Linked DNA regions of Homo sapiens: regions 1, 2, 3, 4 and 5 are each linked to region 6. Evidence: promoter capture Hi-C in human tissues and cell types (Jung and others, 2019). All regions are on one chromosome and are shown on one strand. Each heading gives the region's core, a stretch centred on a gene start or on the middle of the fragment in contact. The rest is flanking DNA. Distances are from core to core; before and after follow the strand shown.

Region 1 (3,268 bases), core at 476-2,975, 500 kb before region 6:
CTGATTTTCAAACCTATTCTCTGCTTAAGGTATATCTTCATTGTAGATCAAAGACAGACTCCACATTATAAGATTCTCCTACATTGTATGGTAAAATCTGTGTGAATATAATGTATTTTATCATAGGAGCTTGCTGTAGTTTAATCAGCCTACCCATAAACTAACATGAACCCACATGATAATACCATTCATTTTCTTTTGATGCCTTCCAGTTATTAAATGCAAGGCACTTGTGGTGTGGGAACCAAACATACCCATTTCTATTGAGGAGCTGAGTTGTCCATCTCAAGAATCATGAGATTCGAGTAGAGACACAGTGGGTACTGCATATCTGAGGACTAGGCTGGACCATGAGGCACCTATACCCCAGCACCGTGAAAACTTACAGAAAGGCCTCTTAAAACTTTCCACTTAAATAATACCTTTGGTTCCATGGCTGAACTTGTTGGGAATAAGCCCCCAAAATCTGGCCATAAACTGCCTCCAAAACTGGCCATAAACAAAATCTCTGTAGCACTGTGACATGTTCATGATGGCCATGGCGCCCACGCTGGAAGGCTGTGGGTTCACTGGAATGAGGGAAAGGAACACCTGGCCCACCGAGGGCGGAAAACCGCTTAAAGGCGTTCTTTTTTTTTTTTTTTTTAATTCTACTTTAAGTTTTAAGGTACATGTGCACAACATGCAGGTTTCTTACATAGGTATACATGTGCCATGTTGGTGTGCTGCACCCATTAACTCGTCACTTAGCATTAGGTATATCTCCTGATGCTATCCCTCCCCCTCCCCCCACCCCACAACAATCCCCGGTGTGTGATGTTCCCCTTCCTGTGTCCATGTGTTCTCATTGTTCAATTCCCACCTATGAGTGAGAACATGTGGTGTTTGGTTTTTTGTCCTTGCGATTGTTTGCTGAGAATGATTGTTTCCAGCTTCATCCATGTCCCTACAAAGGACATGAACTCATCATTTTCTATGGCTGCATAGTATTCCATGGTGTATATGTGCCACATTTTCTTAATCCAGTCTATCATTGTTGGACATTTGGGTTGGTTCCAGGTCTTTGCTATTGTGAATAGTGCTGCAATAAACATACGTGTGCATGTGTCTTTATAGCAGCATGATTTATAATCCTTTGGGTATATAAATCCCAGTAATGGGATGGCGGGGTCAAATGGTATTTCTAGTTCTAGATCCCTGAGGAATCACCACACCAACTTCCACAATGGTTGAACTAGTTTACAGTCCCACCAACAGTGTAAAAGTGTTCCTATTTCTCCATATCCTCTCCAGCACCTGTTGTTTCCTGACTTTTTAATGATCGCCATTCTAACTGGTGTGAGATGGTATCTCCTTGTGACTTTGATTTGCATTTCTCTGATGGCCAGTGATGATGAGCATTTTTTCATGTGTTTTTTGGCTGCCTAAATGTCTTCTTTTGAGAAGTGTCTGTTCATATCCTTCACCCACTTTTTGGTGGGGTTGTTTGTTTTTCTCTTGTAAATTTGTTGGAGTTCATTGTAGATTCTGGATATTAGCCCTTTGTCAGATGAGTAGGTTGCGAAAATTTTCTCCCATTCTGTAGGTAGCCTGTTCACTCTGATGGTGGTTTCTTTAGCTGTGCGGAAGCTCTTTAGTTTAATTAGATCCCATTTGTCAATTTTGGCTATTGTTGCCATTGATTTTGGTGTTTTAGACGTGAAGTTCTTGCCCATGCCTATGTCCTGAATGGTGTTGCCTAGGTTTTCTTCTAGGGTTTTTATGGTTTTAGGTCTAACATTTAAGTCTTTAATCCATCTTGAATTAATTTTTGTATAAGATGTAAGGAAGGTATCCAGTTTCAGCTTTCTACATATAGCTAGCCAGTTTTCCCAGCACCATTTGTTAAATAGGGAATCCTTTCCCCATTGCTTGTTTTTGTCAGGTTTGTCAAAGATCAGATGGTTGTAAATATGCAGCATTATTTCTGAGGGCTCTGTTCTGTTCCATTGATCTATATCTCTGTTTTGGTACCAGTACCATCCTGTTTTGGTTACTGTAGCCTTGTAGTATAGTTTGAAGTCAGGTAGTGTGATGCCTCCAGGTTTGTTCTTTTGGCTTAGGATTGAATTGGCCATGCGGGCTCTTTTTTGGTTCCATATGAACTTGAAAGTAGCTTTTTCCAATTCTGTGAAGAAAGTCATTAGTAGCTTGATGGGGATGGCATTGAATCTATAAATTACCTTGGGCAGTATGGCCATTCTCACGATATTGATTCTTCCTATCCATGAGCATGGAATGTTCTTCCATTTGTTTGTATCCTCTTTTATTTCCTTGAGCAGTGGTTTGTAGTTCTCCTTGAAGAGGTCCTTCATATCCCTTGTAAGTTGCATTCCTAGGTATTTTATTCTCTTGGAAGCAATTGTGAATGGGAGTTCACTCATGATTTGGCTCTCTGTTTGTCTGTTATTGGTGTATAAGAATGCTTGTGATTTTTGCACATTGATTTGTATACTGAGACTTTGCTGAAGTTGCTTATCAGCTTAAGGAGATTTTGGGCTGAGACGATGGGGTTTTCTAGATATGCAATCATGTCATCTGCAAACAGGGACAATTTGACTTCCTCTTTTACTAACTGAATGCCCTTTATTTCCTTCTCCTGCCTAATTGCCCTGGCCAGAACTTCCAACACTATGTTGAATAGGAGTGGTGAGAGAGGGCATCCCTGTCTTGTGCCAGTTTTCAAAGGGAATGCTTCCAGTTTTTGTCCATTCAGTATGATATTGGCTGTGGGTTTGTCATAAATAGCTCTTATTATTTTGAGATACGTCCCATCAATACCTAATTTATTGAGAGTTTTTAGAATGAAGGGTTGTTGAATTTTGTCAAAGGCCTTTTCTGCATGTATTGAGATAATCATGTGCTTTTTGTCTTTGGTTCTGTTTATATGCTGGATTACATGTATTGATTTGTGTATGTTGAACCAGCCTTGCATCCCAGGGATGAAGCCCACTTGATCATGGTGGATAAGCTTTTGGATGTGCTGCTGGATTCAGTTTGCCGGTATTTTATTGAGGATTTTTGCATCAATGTTCATCAAGGATATTGGTCTAAAATTATCTCTTTTGGTTGTGTCTCTGCCAGGCTTTGCTATCAGGATGATGTTGTCCTCATAAAATGAGTTAGGAAGGATTCCCTGTTTTTCCATTGATTGGAATAGTTTCAGAAGGAATGGTACCAGCTCCTCTTTGTACCTCTGGTAGAATTCAGCTGTGAATCCATCTGGTCC
Region 2 (2,873 bases), core at 4-2,503, 370 kb after region 6:
ATGCTTCCCAGATATTGGGGTGAACTTGATGAGAGTCTGGTGGTGGACTCAGGGACCTGGAATTGTCTTCCTCACTTTCTTGCCACTTCTCAGTGTGAATGTTGTCTGTAGGGGGTGCTCTCCTTGCTTGCCGTGGGTCTCAGAGCTACCAGAGCATTAGAATGTAGGAGATGCGCAGGCCTTGTGGACGTTTTGCCAGTCGAGCGATTCAGCAAAGTAATTGCAAGGTTTCTCTAATTGTTAAATATCTACAACAGGCTGAATTTGGATTGGCTGAAAAGAAAGGTGAAATGAGGTCATCAGAATTACATGATTTTTTTCAAGTTCTGGCATCTTGTGTTCTTTGCCAAGCAGAAATATTCCAGTAGAACTGTGATAATGCCTTTCATCTATCTGCTGAGCCTTCCAGATGGCAGTTTCTCAGCCAGTGAGCAAAAGAAAGGGTGTTGAGATTTATGAGTAAGTTGATTCCCTTCGTTTGTACTTCCCAGTGAACTCTCATTCGCTATTTGTGCTAAGCACCAGTGGCAAGTTATCCTCACATCTTTAGCTCTGCAGGGCCCTTAAGCCAGTAGGCCTTACTTCAAGGGGAGGAGGGCTTCAAATTCAGAGTAATAAATAGCTGTCTAAATAGAGCCCTTCACATACTTTCTCAGAGAACTTTTTGTGATCTAAGTGGACTTAAGTTTCTTGAGGACAGGGGCACTCCTTTCTCCTGGGTAGCACCAATGCACAGGAAGCTTGGCGTTGGATTCCGTGGGCCCCTCCCTTTCTAGTTATGTGCACAGTCTCCCGGGTTGAGAGAATCCCTCCCTTTGCTAAGTCATCTTCATTCAATCCAGGGATGTTTAGGGAATATGCGTGCCTCGGATGACAATACAAGATGGATTAAGGTGATTCTTGTGCTTTGAGAGCTCTCAGTCCAATGGAGGAAAAACATATAAATAAATACACACATAAACGAGAAGTGGTGTATAAGTCTAAAGATCAGGTAATGAGGGAATGTTTTAGAGGAGGTGGTGCTGCTGTATGTATTGGAGGCGGGTAGGGATTTGCTGAGCAGAACATGTGCCATGTTGTTTTCTCCATCAGGCCTCATGGCTGGAACAGCTGCAGTGCTTTTCGTTTGGTGCCTCCTCTGCTTTGCCTTTGTCCTGTTCTTGTTCACTTTGAGCACCCTTGCAGCCTACCCTGGGCATAACCCTCCAGGAACTCTGATGCTGTTTAGTAGATACTCAGAGGTTACCACTTAATCCTTGTTGGTTAGTTTTGTTCCCCAACTCGAGCGTGAATTCAGGACAGGGCCCATCTCTGACCACACCAAATGCAGTCAGTGCATATGTTAAGATTTAGGGAAAGCGTTTGGGTTGGTTAGTCGAGTATTTTCATAGATTATTATTACCTGGTTATGTAAGTATGACAAGACAGTTTAACAATGACACAAATATAAGCAGAGGATCTGATTAAAAATACTTTTTTTTGAAAGGGAAGCATAAGTTTGTGGTCAGCAGCAAATAACCCATTTGATCTTCATTCATTTATTCTTCCATTTATTCACTCACTAACAGTCTGTACCTTTGTGAATAGCAACAGTCTTTTTCTTCATTGGTGTTTTTTGAATGCTGGGTTTTTACTGCCCTGGGGATTTTCTTTAAACCTGATAGTTGTTTTGATAAATCATCTGGATACCAGCTTTGAGCTAATTCTTTTCTATTAAGTACCTCTTAGAGTGGCTGACCATAAACCATTTGAGAAATCACTACATTTTATTAATGACTTTTGAGATTTAGCAGCAACTTAAATTAATAATACTGGAGTGTGCTTTGGATAAAAGACCAGGAGACTGCTTCATTCTGCAAACCAGAGCAGAGATGAGAATGTTTGCATTAGGAGAACGTAATTTATCAGCATTTTAGGCTAGTGTGTCGATTGATACAAGGTTGGGCAATAGTGGTAGGCAGTGTTATAAGTGCTGTTTGTATGTATCAGCTCATTTAATCCTCCCAGTAACCCTTTAAGATGTCTGCACTATTATTTTTCACATTATTCTGATGAGGACATCGAGGCACAGAGGGGTTGTGTGACTTGCCTGCAATCTTGGTTGTGTGCTCAGAAATAGTCTTTTTGAGACTGAAGATATTCTGGTTATGTGTAATACACAGTACAACTCAAAGACTGTGAAATAGTTCATAGACAAATTATCCATTCTTTGCCACTTTAGAGTAATTATGCTTATTGTTTCTGTTTCAGGATAATATGTGTGTGTTTATAAGCATTTTTTCCTTTTTATTTAATTGCAGTAACATATACATAAATAACTATGATGGCTAGTTTTGAACTCATTTAAAAACAAGTAAATTTATGCTTTGATAAGCTAAGGTACATTCAAAGCATTCCCATTTCCAAAGCAAAGTGTTTTCAGTTAAAGATTATAGATGTTGCCTTTTGCCAGGGATGCTTGTGAGAATGTCATTTAGAGAAATCTTAAAGTAATTTATCCATAATATTAACTTAGCATGCCTTCTCTCTGCAATGTACAATGTATCATAGGACAATGTATGATACAGCTCAGTTTTGATATATCAGCAAGTTGAGTAGTAATTTTTGTTTGTTTGTTTTAGTTGTTTTAAAAGCTGGTGTTGCAGATTCCTATGCTTAGAAGGACCAGGCAGAAAATAAGCCATTAAGGGTGCTGGGAATGCAATAGGGAGTGATGGGGAGTGTGGTAAAGGGGTCAGCAATGCTTCTGCCATGCCTATCAGGGAGCTGGTTTCCATTAGCTGTTGGTTGACCCAGGAATCTGTACCTGTGTTGCCAGATCTAACCATTTTCCAGGAGAGGCTGGAACTTCATATTTAAAAAATGAGAATTTG
Region 3 (3,076 bases), core at 298-2,797, 500 kb after region 6:
TGATTATGGCAATATACTTTTATTTAATTCTTATTATATTCGAAGCACTTCACATCGTGTTTGGATTTACTTGGATTGTTTCCATCATCCTCATAATAACCTTAGGACATAGAGTACCATTTTCACAGATACAGAAATTGAGGCTTAGGCAGATGAGGTAATCTGCCTAAGATGACACAGGTAGTAAGTGCGATCTTAGGCAGGTTACTTCATCTGCCTAAGCCTCAATTTGGCTTAGCATTGGGATTCAAGACAAGCTAGTCTGTATTAGTGTCTGTCTGTTTGTCTGTCTCCCCCATTGTCCAGGCTACCCCACTTTCTGAGTTTTGGATTTACTTGGATCCCAGGGGATATTGGAGGTGAGCCTCATTGGCTTAAGTACAGTTCAGGATGGTTTGTTCAGGAGGAGGTTGATTCTGGAATGCTCTCTCTGCCCCACTCTAGAGCAGGCTAGTCTAAGTGGCTGGAATATCAGAGTCTCCCTTGTACCACGATGGGTGCAAATGGATACATTGTTGCTTGTTGGCTCTCTAAACTTCTGTTACAATCCTATTGCCTCAGACATGGACCACTAATGTGTCTTATTTCTTCTTAGACATATACTGGTCTCTTTGCTAAGTTATGAGAGATGCTGTCTGGTACCTAGTGGATAATGGAAATCTCCTATTGCAGAATCATCTCTTAAAGGCTTCAAGTGGATATGCCAGAGTTAGTTGTCCAAAAGCTAATTTGCAGAATGGCCAATTTGTTGAATATATTTTTTTCTTTCAACTTTTTAAATTGACTGCTATTCATTTTGTCTTTATAGCAGCACTTTATGTTATGGTCAATTTGTTTTTTGCCTCTGCTGCCTGCTGCAACAACAGCTGTAGACCTCAGAGGCAGGAGAAGAGAAGATTAAGGATCCTAAGAAGAATATTGACATAGCATATAGTCTGCATACGAAGAATTCTTATGAATATATTCATTTATATCAGTTCTTACTAATAAAATTTTAATGTATTAATAAGATATATGTAGAGGAATTCTTCCCACATAGCATTCTGAATCGATCATCTTGAATATATTTTTCTCATCACCTGCAGTCTTGGTCTCTGGCTCTCTCTCATTCTGAATCTTTCTGTTTCTGCTACTACTGTTCAGAATCTCACTTTCATATGTCAACTAAAACGGATGGAAATAACTGTGTGTGGCCCGTTACTCTGCTTCTCACTCATTTATCCTTGTTCCAGTTAGGTTCAGCTTCATGGGATATTTTCTGATGTTATCTGCGAAGTCTAGTACCCTTGACATCTTTAGCCCCCAGGGCTTGCTATGCTTGTAGGATTCAGGTAGGAGAAGGATGAGAACTTCCTATGGAATATAGATGCCAAGCTCTGTGTGTGCACTTCTGGCATAAACAGGTACAGAAGAGAGTAGTCAAATAACATTTTGTATTTATTTACTTATTTATGTTTTATTACTTTTTGAGATGTGATTTCACTCTGTTGCCCAGGCTGGAGTGCAGTGATGTGATCATGGCTCACTGCAGCCTCCAACTCGTGGGCTCAAGTGATCTTTCTGCCTCAGCCTCCCAAGTAGCTAGGACTACAGGCACACACCAGTGTACCTGACTTATGTTTAAATTTTTTCTAGAGATGGGGTCTTGTTTTATTGCCCAGGCTGGTCTCAACTTCTGGCTTCAGGCAATCCCCCTACCTCGGCCTCCCAATGTATTGATTTTTTTCCGTGTTTGAGGTTTTAAAAGTTGGTATTTAAACTCAAGGGCTGAACATTCAAGTTTACATGCAGAATTGGAGGTTAAACCATGTTATGCATTATTTGTCAGTAACATAGACAAATCACCTAAAAGTTCCATAAGAGTTCCACAGAACTGCTCATTTCATTGATGATGCTGAATTCATAGTGAGTTAACATGAATGAGACTGTTTACACCGGCTTAATTACTACGTTGACTTGAAATATCAGCCAGCTGGGGAAAATGACCATTTAAAACCTGGCACATCCCTTTGCTCCCTATACCCACATTTTTTCCCAGCTTCGACCACGTGCGTGTGTCTGTGTGTCTATGTGCATGTCTGTGTGTGCGTTTACGTGCATGGAGGACTGAAGCATAGTGTATTCAAAGCTTTTGTGTTGTGCAGGACTTCGCAGATGCAAATGAAGACCCAAAGAGAACCAGCATAAGCAATCAAGGGAGTGTATCTAAGGCTCCTGGAGTGACACATAGAGCTCTAGGGCAGGCCTCAGGAACCACTGGACTGGGGATTTATAATGCTGTCTGGATTTTCCCTCCCTACTCTTGTTCTTTGTTTCTTCTTGAGCGCGGTTTTCTGCTTCTCACTGCTGTCTGACTTTCTCCACTTGGTAGGAAATATGACATGCTTCACAAGGCTCTGGAGTTTGGCATTTTAGAGTCTCAGCCACTAGAGAAAGGTGCCTGTTCTAAATCCTGGCACTTTAGGAAGGGAATCCAGGCTTCTCAGCCCTCACCAGGCCAGCAGGATTGTATGAGATCTTGGCAGCTCTGAGGGGTCATGGAGTGAAAGGAGGGGCGAAGGCATCCTTACAAGGAGGAGGTGGTGCTGTTCCCAGAAGAGGCGGGGGCCTCAGGTTCCCAGAAGACTAGGTGTCTGCTGGTGGTGTTCTTGCACATTCCTAAGGATTTACTGTGAATCTGGTGCCTGTTTTAAATTGCTTGGCAGACTTAACTGTAATCTTAGATTTTTTTTCTTACAGCTTCTTGTCAACTACAAGGTTTAATTATAATTACTCTTCAGCAGGCATATACTAGCACTTCTTACTCATCTGTCAAATTGAGCTGAATGAAATTAAAAAGTCCAGAAAGAGACCCCATCTTTAGGACAACAGAAGACTGAACAGTCAACTCCCTATCATTTTTGTAATCCAAATCACTGTTGTCAGGATTATGTTCCCCCCCACCTTTTTTTTTTTTTTTAGACAGAGTCTTGCTCTGTCACCAGGCTGGAGTGCAGTGGCTCAATCTCAGCTCACTGCAACCTCTGCCTCCTGGGTTCAAGCGATTCTCCTGCCTCAGCCTCTCGAGTAGCTGGGA
Region 4 (2,837 bases), core at 151-2,650, 480 kb before region 6:
TAGGGAAAAAAATATTTCATGAGCTACTATGGCTAATGTATAAAATTGCCAAGTGCCAATGAGAGATAGCTGTTAAATGCTTTCTGTCTTTACCACTAACTTACTGAATGCATTAAGAACTCTATTGATGTGTATTTCACACACCACACAATTCACGCATTTAAAGTGGACAATTCAATGGTTTTTAGTATATCTGCAAATATGTGCAACCATCACCATAGTCAGCTATAGAACGTTTTTGTCACCTTAAATACAAACTCTGTACTCTTTAGCTACCCCCATTCCTCCTCCACTGACCAAGCCCTAAGAAATGTGCAATCTCCTATTTTGTCTCTGTAGATTTGCCTATTCTAAACATTTTGCATACATTGAATCATATGATATGTAGTCTTTGGTGTCTGTCCGGCTTCTTTCACTTAGCATGAAGGTTCATTCATGCTATAACATGTATCAGTATTTCATTTCTTTTTATGGCTGAATAATTTTCCAGTGGATACCACATTTTATTTATCCAATCATGAATTGATGAGGATTTGGATTTTTTTTTTTTTTTTTTTTACATTTTGGCTGTTGTAAATAATGCTTCTATGAATATTCACATACAAGATTCTGTGTGGACATACATTACCATTTTTCCTGGGTAACTCTGTGTTTTGTAGTTTGAGTACTGCCATACTGTTTTACACTCCTGCCAGCAGCGTAGGAGAGCTCTTATTTTGCTACATCCTCATTTTTTGATTCTTGCCACATGCTAGTGGGTGTGTAGCCAGTTTCAAAGGATGATGAAAATAGTCCCCACTAGGACAATGTCAAGCAAAACTGTGATGTCAGGGCAACCACAGAGAATCCCCACTAGGACAATGCCTAGTGGAGCTGTGGGAATGGGGCTGCTTCCAAGATGCCAGAACTGTAGAGCCACCAGCATGCATCATCAGCCTGAAAAAGCCTCAGGTATGTGACTTCAATGAATGAGAGCTGAAGCATGAACTGTTCCCAGCAAAGCCATAGGTGCAGGGCTGCCTGAAGCCTTTGGGGCCCAACCCTCACCCCAGTGTGTCTAGAAGATAGGACATGGAGTAAAAGAAGATTATTCTCAAGTCTTAAGACCTGACGTTGTTTGCTTTGTTGGGTTTTGGACCTACTTGGGACTTGTTGCTTTTCTTTTTTTCACTGTTTCTCCTTTTTGGGATGGGAATGTCCTTCCTGTAGCTGTCCCACCATTGTGTTCTGGAAGTGCATAGCTGGTTTGCTCACAGGCTCACAGTAGAAGAAAATTTAACACTGGAGCTAGTTAAGACTTCGGGGGCTATTAGGGTGGAGTGCATGTATTTTGTACGTGAGAAGGACATGAATTTTAGGGGACCAGAGGTCAAATGCTATGGTTTGAATGTGTCCTTTTCAAAATTCATGTGTTGGAAACCTAATTCCCAATGTTACAGTGTTGGGAGGTGAGAACTTTTGGGAGGTGATTAGGTCATGAGGGTGGCGCCCTCATGAATAAATTAATGTTGCTATGAAAAGGGCTTGCAAAAGTGGGTTTATTCTCTCTTATCCTTCCACACTCTGTCATGTGAGAATGCAATAAAAAGGCCCACATTAGATGCCCATATCTTGATTTTGAACTTCCCAGCCTCCAGAACTGTGAGAAATAAATTTTTGTTCTTTATAAATTACCCAGTCTCAGGCATTCTGTTATAGCAGCACAGACTAAGCCACCTTCCTTTATTTAATTATAGTTTTCTTTAGTTCTTTGATCATATTTATAATGTCTACTTTGAAGGCTTTGTGTGTTAAATTCAATGTCTGGTTGTTCTCACAGGCAATTTCTTTTGCCTGCTTTTTTTTCCAGTGTATGGGTCATAATTTCTGGTTTTATTTTTTTGCATGTCTTGTAATTTTTGAGAAATTGGACATTTTAGATAATACTGACAGAACAATCAAGTGTCTTACTACAGCTAGGAAATAGTAAGTACATGGCTCAAAACCCAGTTCTTTGATAAATTTAATCAAGAAGATAAAGGATATCTAACTTTGTTAAAAGTAAGCTTGGGCATGTGTTGTGAGAGGTTTTAATTGAAATACACCGTAGTCTTTTGTATATATTTATCCTTTCAACATTCCAGAGAGACTTTTTGATGAATGATTGCATTGTTCTCTCCAGGAGACAAAGTCATCCTTCAGTATGGAAAATCTGACCCTTGTTTGATCCCTAAAGGAAATATATGCAATCAATTCAAGTAGGTCTCTTTAATTACTAAAATTTCATCCTATACCTCCATTCATCTCTCATATGTGCTTTTATGGTTTGCTTTACTAAGCTTTGATGGTATTTGTGAAACCATGGCTGATGACACCACCAGATTTACCTGTAAAAGAAAACCAATCTACCAACTCCCTAACACAAGCACCTTCACTGAATACACAGTGTTAAGAGAAAGTGCATTTGTCAAAATTGATCCTGATGCTCCACTAGAAAAAGTATGTTTGATAGGCTGTGGATTACTTGCAGGAAGAGGGCAGGAATAAATAATGCAAAGGTAAGGATTTAGATTGGCTTTTTTCCATCACAGTCTTTTAAAGCCTCCATCATAGGCTCTTGCATTTAATGTATACAAGAAGTAAACCAAGCTCATCTCTGTGATGCCTCCTTCAGGCCATCCTGTTTAAAAAGCTCAAGGCACAAAAGAAAGGGGGGTAGGAGGAAGAGATGTATGCCCAAGACTGCCATTTTTCAGCTTTTATGGTTGCCTTCTTTTCCCCCATTCTAGGTTTAATGGTTTTATAAATTTTCACAAAATGAAAGGAAGGAACAAACACATAATGTTACAAGTCAGGCT
Region 5 (2,923 bases), core at 404-2,903, 310 kb after region 6:
CATAGAAATGGCTTCTGGATTCTCCTCCTGCCCTTGAGCCAACATTACCAGGCATGATGTTGAAAGGACTAGGGCCAGAGGCCATATCAGGATAAGAACCTGCCCTGTAGTAGGAGTATGTGGGGAGAGAGATAAGCAAGGTCTGCAATGTGCAGAGCCAGAAGCAATTCTGTGGAAAATTCCTTCGAACATCAGACATGTAAACTTGTAAACAAAGAATTCAATTCTCATCAATGCCCCATCAAGACAGAAATTCTCTCCTGTTTAGGAATGTACATTATACATAATTATAAACCCAAAATACATTTTCATGAAAATCATCTAAAGTAGATTTTATCAGAATTCTTGGGTTTCTGATGCATAATCCTGTAGCAGTGAACACATCTATGTGTGAGGTTGCATGTTTTATGCATCCCATCTATCAATAATAAAACACAAATTTAGACCAACCATGCTAGAGGAAGGCTGTTTTCTATCTTTAGAAAGCTGTGTTACAAAATTGATGTTAAAGAGGTGATCAAAGAATATGCAGCCAAAATATGCAGAAAAATATATTATAAAAAGCTGTCAGAGAATTAAAAAAAAATTGGGTTCTAGATGTATGGGTATTCATAGTATTTATCATCTTTCTAATGTTTGTAATTTATTTTTTATTTCTTTTTATTCTAAATAAATATTTACTTTTGTATCTAATTTTATATTTATAATTTTATACTCTTTTTCTTAAAGAGAAGATTAAATAAACTTCAAGCCTCCCAAAAGCTAGATCCTCTCCTCCTGCATCCAATTCTAATCACTGATTACCCAAATTTGTCAATTCATGGTAAAGGCCTTCATTGCCCATTGGCAGTCTCTGGTTTGCTCGGTTATCTTTCTTTGTTTTAAATTAGAGACAGGGTCTCTGTCTGCCACCCAGGCTAGAATGCAATTGCAAGATCCCAGCTCACTATGGCCTTGAATTCTTGGACTTAACGAGATCCCCCTGCCTCAGCCTCCAGTGTAGGTAGGGCTACAGGCACATGCCACCATGGCGGGCTATTTTTTTTTTAATTTTTTGTACAGAAGGGGTCTCACTATGTTGCCCAGGCTGGTCTCAAACTCCTGACCTCAAGCAATCCTCTCACCTTGGCTTATCAAAGTACTGGGATTACAGACATGCCACCGCCTGCTTCATTATCTTTAATGTCTAAAACCACAGGGAAAATAAGAGAAAACAAACAAAACATCATGATACTTTCGAGAGTGAGATTTATATCTGAGCACGTGTCAAACATCAATTACCACCCAAGTCATTTGTAAATCTCTGCTTCCAGTGGAACCCAACTTAAGAAACATACCTGTATTGGTTTAATAGGGCTAACACAACAAAGTACCACAAACTGGGTGGCTTAACCTACAAGTGTATTGTCTCTGTCTGGAGGGCAGAAGTCGGAGATCAAGGAGTTGGCAGGGCTGGTTCCTTCTGAGGACATGAGGGAGAATCTGTTCAGTGCCTCTCTCCTAGCTTCTGGTGGTTGCTGGCAATCGGTGTTGCTTAGCTTATAGTTGCATGACCCCGATCTCTGCCTTCTCTTCACATGGCATTCACAGGGAGAACAGTCAACTGGAGTCGGGACCACTTTAATGATTTCATCTTAACTTGTCTACATCTGCACAAGCCCTGTTTCCAAATAAGGTCACATTTCTGAGGTACTAGGGCTTGAGACTTCAACATATCTTTTTTGGGGGGACACAATTCAACCCATAACAATGCCTTCATTTTTTTTGTACTTTCCTTCTATAAAAGCAAGTAATGATAGTACTCACTATTGATGAGAATACAATATGCAGTAAAGTGGTCATTCCCATTGCTATTGGAAATGTCAATTAAAACATTAGAAACAATTTAAGTTCATTTTAAGATGTAAATTCCAGAAAGTCAGGGACCTTGTCTGTTTTCCTCACCACTGTTATCTCAGCTGCAAAAACACAGCTTATCACACAACACACACTCAATGAATACTTGTTTTGAATTGATGTATTATCTTGAAATGCCTATACTAAATGGTTATGGTTTGGCATTGTTAGAATAACTAGACAGAAGAAAGTGATGTTAAATACCATACTCTTTACTAAATAGATGGGAAGTTTCCTCTCAGCCTAAGTATCTATTCAAAAGAATAATTTAGGTCTTTATAGAAATAATAGAATGTGTTTGCTGGAATTCATACAATGGTATAAAACCTATAGTTAATATTTAACTCTATAGAAAATATATGTATATTGTGTATTCAGTAAACTACAAATAGTTAAGTTTCCATTTCTGTCCCCAGTAAGGAATTGGTAAAAATGATTACCTTAGGTAAATATCTTTCACCTTTAAAAGTTCATTAAAAATTTCAAATCTCTTAGAAACCCCCAAATGAATTATCTGATCCCCTGATTAGGTTAGGTTCTCCTGTCACTCACTCTCACAGATTTCAAAACTTCTTTGTTGTTAGTACTTATCAATTTGAACTTAAATAATTTTTTTTATTGTTTTAAGGCCTAGCTTTGCTGCTATTATACAATCCATGAAAGCACACTTTTCTTGTCTTTTTCACTAAGGTAATTTAACCTCCAATATTTGCTTAGTGTCTAGCATATATTTGCTGCTCAATAAATATTTGCTACGTCAACACATAAATTACTGAAAGAATGAATGAGTGAATAAATGAATGCATGCTTGGAGTGTGAAGTCTGAGCCTGATTCCCCTGCTTTGGACTTTACCTAAGTTCTGCTGATGATCTTCCTCAAGAGCCTTGTCCTAAGGCAGTATTTTCAGGAATGTCATTTTCTTTCATTTTTCACCCTAATTTCTCTGCAGAAATTCTGTCTTTGAGTTTGCTCAAAATAATAGCCTATATCGATTTTATTGCAAAGGAGACATTGTTTTCCTTCAAT
Region 6 (3,105 bases), core at 421-2,920:
GATTGTTCGGTAATGCTATTTTTAGATCAAGCAACACTCCTCCACGTGCAAGTTTTTCCAAATTATACTAACAAGGTCAAGGATCATATCCTATCTAAAAACAAGACTGTATAACACAGCTAAGACCTTTTGCAATCGCTTATCTACAAATATTGTGACGTAAAGATTGTATTTATTTATATCTTTACGTTTTTATGTTTTATGTTGGAAAACACTTTTATTATTTGTATTGTGTTCATATATCTGCCTTCATTCTTATTCATATTTTTATTTATGGCAGAGTTAAATCGTACTAGAATCCTTTAAAAAATAAAGGACTTTACATTATAACAGCATTTCACGTTCCTTGGATAATCTGGGTCTCAGAAGAAGCTTGTGAAACTTACAAAGAAAGCTATAATCATCCCCTCTGTACAGTGTAACACTGGAACTCAGAAAGATTAAGTAACTTTACTAATTCAAGATCGCACAATAACTGGCAAGGGCAGGGCCCCAATCAGGCCTTCTCTTTATTCCGGCTCTCCTCCCCACAGGACGCTACCAATTTAATATTTGAATATTCATGTGCCTCTCTTCACTAAACCTGGACTGTAACTAAGAGCCATACTATTGCCGCCCAGCCCTCATCCTGGGTCTCGAAATGCAGCAGCAACACTAGTACTCTTCAGTAAACAGAAACACGAGCACACGCTTCAGTCTGGACCCCATTCAACGCTGGGTTTGCTCTACTGCACAAAACTTAAAATACACTACAGCATTCACGCCTAACCCTCAATGGAACTGTCCTTTTCACTCTGGGAAATTCAGTCACAGGTGACTCATCCCGTTAGCTTACAGTTTTGTAAATTAATAATTTTATATACCGAAAGAAAAGAATGAATTACACAGACCTCTCCCTTCCCCACCCCCAAAGTTGCTTAAGTGTCAAAGCACGGTAGTAAAGCACAAAGAAGTGGGGCTGGAGCTAGCTAGCGTTCCTCCTCTCTGCGACTCCGACGGTCCTCGGGCCACCCATCTCTCAGAGCCCGGCAGGTAGCTTCAGCCCCCCACCCCGCAGGGACCCGACGGACGGCCCGGCGCCTCCAGCGCCCAGACCCGAGCCCCGCCGGTGCTGCGGATGTGGAGGCTCGCGACGCTCGGGCTGCCCTCCTTCCCGGCGCCGCTACCTGCCTCCGGCAGCCCGCACACCTGGCGGCCCCCGCCCCAGCGCGGGGAACCGGCCCCAGAACGCGGAGGTCTAGCGCGGCCACGCGACCCCGCACAGCCCGCTTCCGCCCCAGCCCACATGGCCGCGGCGGGTGGCGCCCCCGCCCCCGCGTGAGCCCAGCGCGGTTCCCGAGGACCCAGGGACCCCAGGAGGCAGGAGGGGGCGGTGGCGACGCGGGTGGGGGGAGGAGGAAACGCGGCCGGGGGGAAGAGGAGGAGCGCGTCCCGACTCGCCGCAAGGGCGGGAGGAGCCAGCAGGGGAGAAGCGAGGAGGGGTCCCGCAGCGGCGGCATATCCGCGGGGCAGCGGGCGCCTACCTGCGAGCAGAAGTACGAGCCCTGGATGCCCAGCTTGATGCAAGTGGGACACTGGAGCTTGGCCTCACTGCTGCAGCCGTCTGTCTCGCACACCCGCGTCTCCACGGCCGCCATGCTGCCTGCCCGCTGGAAGAGCGCCTCACCGAGGAAGAGGCGGCGGCGGGAGGGAGGAACTGCCGGGCGGAGGGGAGGGGAGAGAGACCGAGTCGGGGGAGGAGCTGGGCCCGCCGCTGGCCTGGGCGCGGGAGGGGGAGGAGCCAGGGCCGGCCGGGACCACGCAGCGCGCCCCGCCCCGGCCCCGCCCCCGCCCCGCGCGCGCAGCTGGTGCCCCGCCCCGCCGGCTTCGCCCCGCCCCCCGCCGGCGGTGCCTGCGTGCCCAAGCCTCCCGGCGGCGCGCACATTGGGGCTGTAAGGGAGCTCGGCAGGGCCCCCCCATTCGGCGCCTTCGGGCGTCGGCCAGCAGAGAACGCGACCTGCCGGCGCCTGACGGTGAGGAGCCGCCCTCTCGCGGCGCACTCTCTGTGCCTACAGTCAGATAAGACAGTCGTCTTCACTGACGAACACCCAGGAGCCCTGATCATCCCCGACACCCGCAGGAGGCTAGAGAGGGCGCTGCGCTCCTCTGCGTTGGATTCCCCCGCCGCTCCTTGGAGAACAGTCCCTTGGGTTAAGTTCTGTTTCTCACTGACATTGTCGGGTCTGAGGCCTAAGGACCACCGCTCATTCACAGAAAGGAGAGCCATAGAGCTGTCAACGGGACGGTGGGCTGGGATTCACATCTGCCCTCCCTCCTGCCAGACTTTTTTTTTCCACACACCACCACCTCCCCTTCAAAACCGATAGTGCTAGTAATAGTAACACAACTGTCAGGTATTCAATACAAATAATTTTTTTGTATAATCCCAGTTGATTGCTTCAGCAGTAAATAGGGGAGAATTGTGCTGATCCTGAAATGTCAGAGTCGAAAGAAGCTGTAAAGGCCTTCCCCTGCGAACCTGTTGCTTCAATCTTTTCAGCTGTATTCCAGGTCGGTTGTGTTGTAACTCATGCTTGAGTGCCTCCTTGTCACTAGGGAAGAGCGAAAAACTAACATTTACTGATCACAAAAGGCTGTGAACTTTGTTATTGTATTTTTTTAACTTCTCCGTACTTAATACACCAGAAAAGCTCATACTACTTTTATTTTTAAGAACTTTGTTTTGGCTAGGAGCGGTGGCTGACGCCTGTAATCAATCCCAGCACTTTGAGAGGCCAGGGCATCCAGGGCACCAAGGCCAGCGGATTCTTTGAGGCCAGGAGTTCGAGACCAGGGTGGAAATATGGCAAAACCCCGTCTCTACAAAAACTAAAACTAAAAACTAAAAAATTAGCCGGGCATGGTGGCAGGCGCCTGTAGTCCCAGCTACTGAGGAGGCTGAGCTGGGAGGATCTGTTGAACCTGAGAAGTCAAGGATATGGTAAGCTATGATCCTGCCACTGCACTCCAGCCCAAACGGCAGAGCAAGACCATGTCTCAAAAAAAAAAAAACTTAGTTTTGCAATATAAGCAGTAAAAATGATGTAATAAAATCAAGTAATAGAA

What was found. The method cuts DNA at HindIII sites, captures the fragments that hold promoters and counts their contacts. A contact is called where the count stands out against the background at its distance.
Region 1: a contact is called between a fragment that was not itself captured here and the fragment with the promoter of METAP1 in region 6, in 1 of the 25 tissues and cell types used here (heart left ventricle).
Region 2: a contact is called between a fragment that was not itself captured here and the fragment with the promoter of METAP1 in region 6, in 2 of the 25 tissues and cell types used here (dorsolateral prefrontal cortex and hippocampus).
Region 3: a fragment that was not itself captured here is called in contact with the fragment with the promoter of METAP1 in region 6 in 2 of the 25 tissues and cell types used here (IMR-90 fibroblasts and spleen).
Region 4: a fragment that was not itself captured here is called in contact with the fragment with the promoter of METAP1 in region 6 in 1 of the 25 tissues and cell types used here (bladder).
Region 5: a fragment that was not itself captured here is called in contact with the fragment with the promoter of METAP1 in region 6 in 1 of the 25 tissues and cell types used here (aorta).

What each region holds. Positions count from the first base shown.
Region 1 is chr4:99,495,642-99,498,909 of GRCh38, reverse strand. No RefSeq gene overlaps it. Among named protein-coding and RNA genes, the nearest start is that of C4orf17, 14 kb to the left of the region's middle. The HindIII fragment of the contact is 9,310 bases long and covers 1-3,268 here.
Region 2 is chr4:98,628,505-98,631,377 of GRCh38, reverse strand. The region is part of intron 1 of TSPAN5 (tetraspanin 5); the gene reads left to right. Among named protein-coding and RNA genes, the nearest start is that of TSPAN5, 29 kb to the left of the region's middle. The HindIII fragment of the contact is 5,638 bases long and covers 1-2,873 here.
Region 3 is chr4:98,491,569-98,494,644 of GRCh38, reverse strand. The region is part of intron 2 of TSPAN5 (tetraspanin 5); the gene reads left to right. Among named protein-coding and RNA genes, the nearest start is that of TSPAN5, 170 kb to the left of the region's middle. The HindIII fragment of the contact is 4,595 bases long and covers 1-3,076 here.
Region 4 is chr4:99,471,366-99,474,202 of GRCh38, reverse strand. No RefSeq gene overlaps it. Among named protein-coding and RNA genes, the nearest start is that of ADH7, 37 kb to the right of the region's middle. The HindIII fragment of the contact is 6,213 bases long and covers 1-2,837 here.
Region 5 is chr4:98,680,061-98,682,983 of GRCh38, reverse strand. No RefSeq gene overlaps it. Among named protein-coding and RNA genes, the nearest start is that of TSPAN5-DT, 23 kb to the right of the region's middle. RefSeq lists a cis regulatory region at 1-328. The HindIII fragment of the contact is 4,437 bases long and covers 1-2,923 here.
Region 6 is chr4:98,994,286-98,997,390 of GRCh38, reverse strand. It overlaps METAP1 (methionyl aminopeptidase 1), which reads right to left and starts at 1,670. Exons shown (of 11, transcript NM_015143.3): 1 at 1,524-1,670. The coding sequence starts at 1,637. MIR3684 (microRNA 3684) reads right to left here and starts at 4; the gene lies at 1-4. RefSeq lists enhancers at 475-1,257, 2,179-2,228 and silencers at 999-1,458, 1,619-1,938. The HindIII fragment of the contact is 14,445 bases long and covers 1-3,105 here.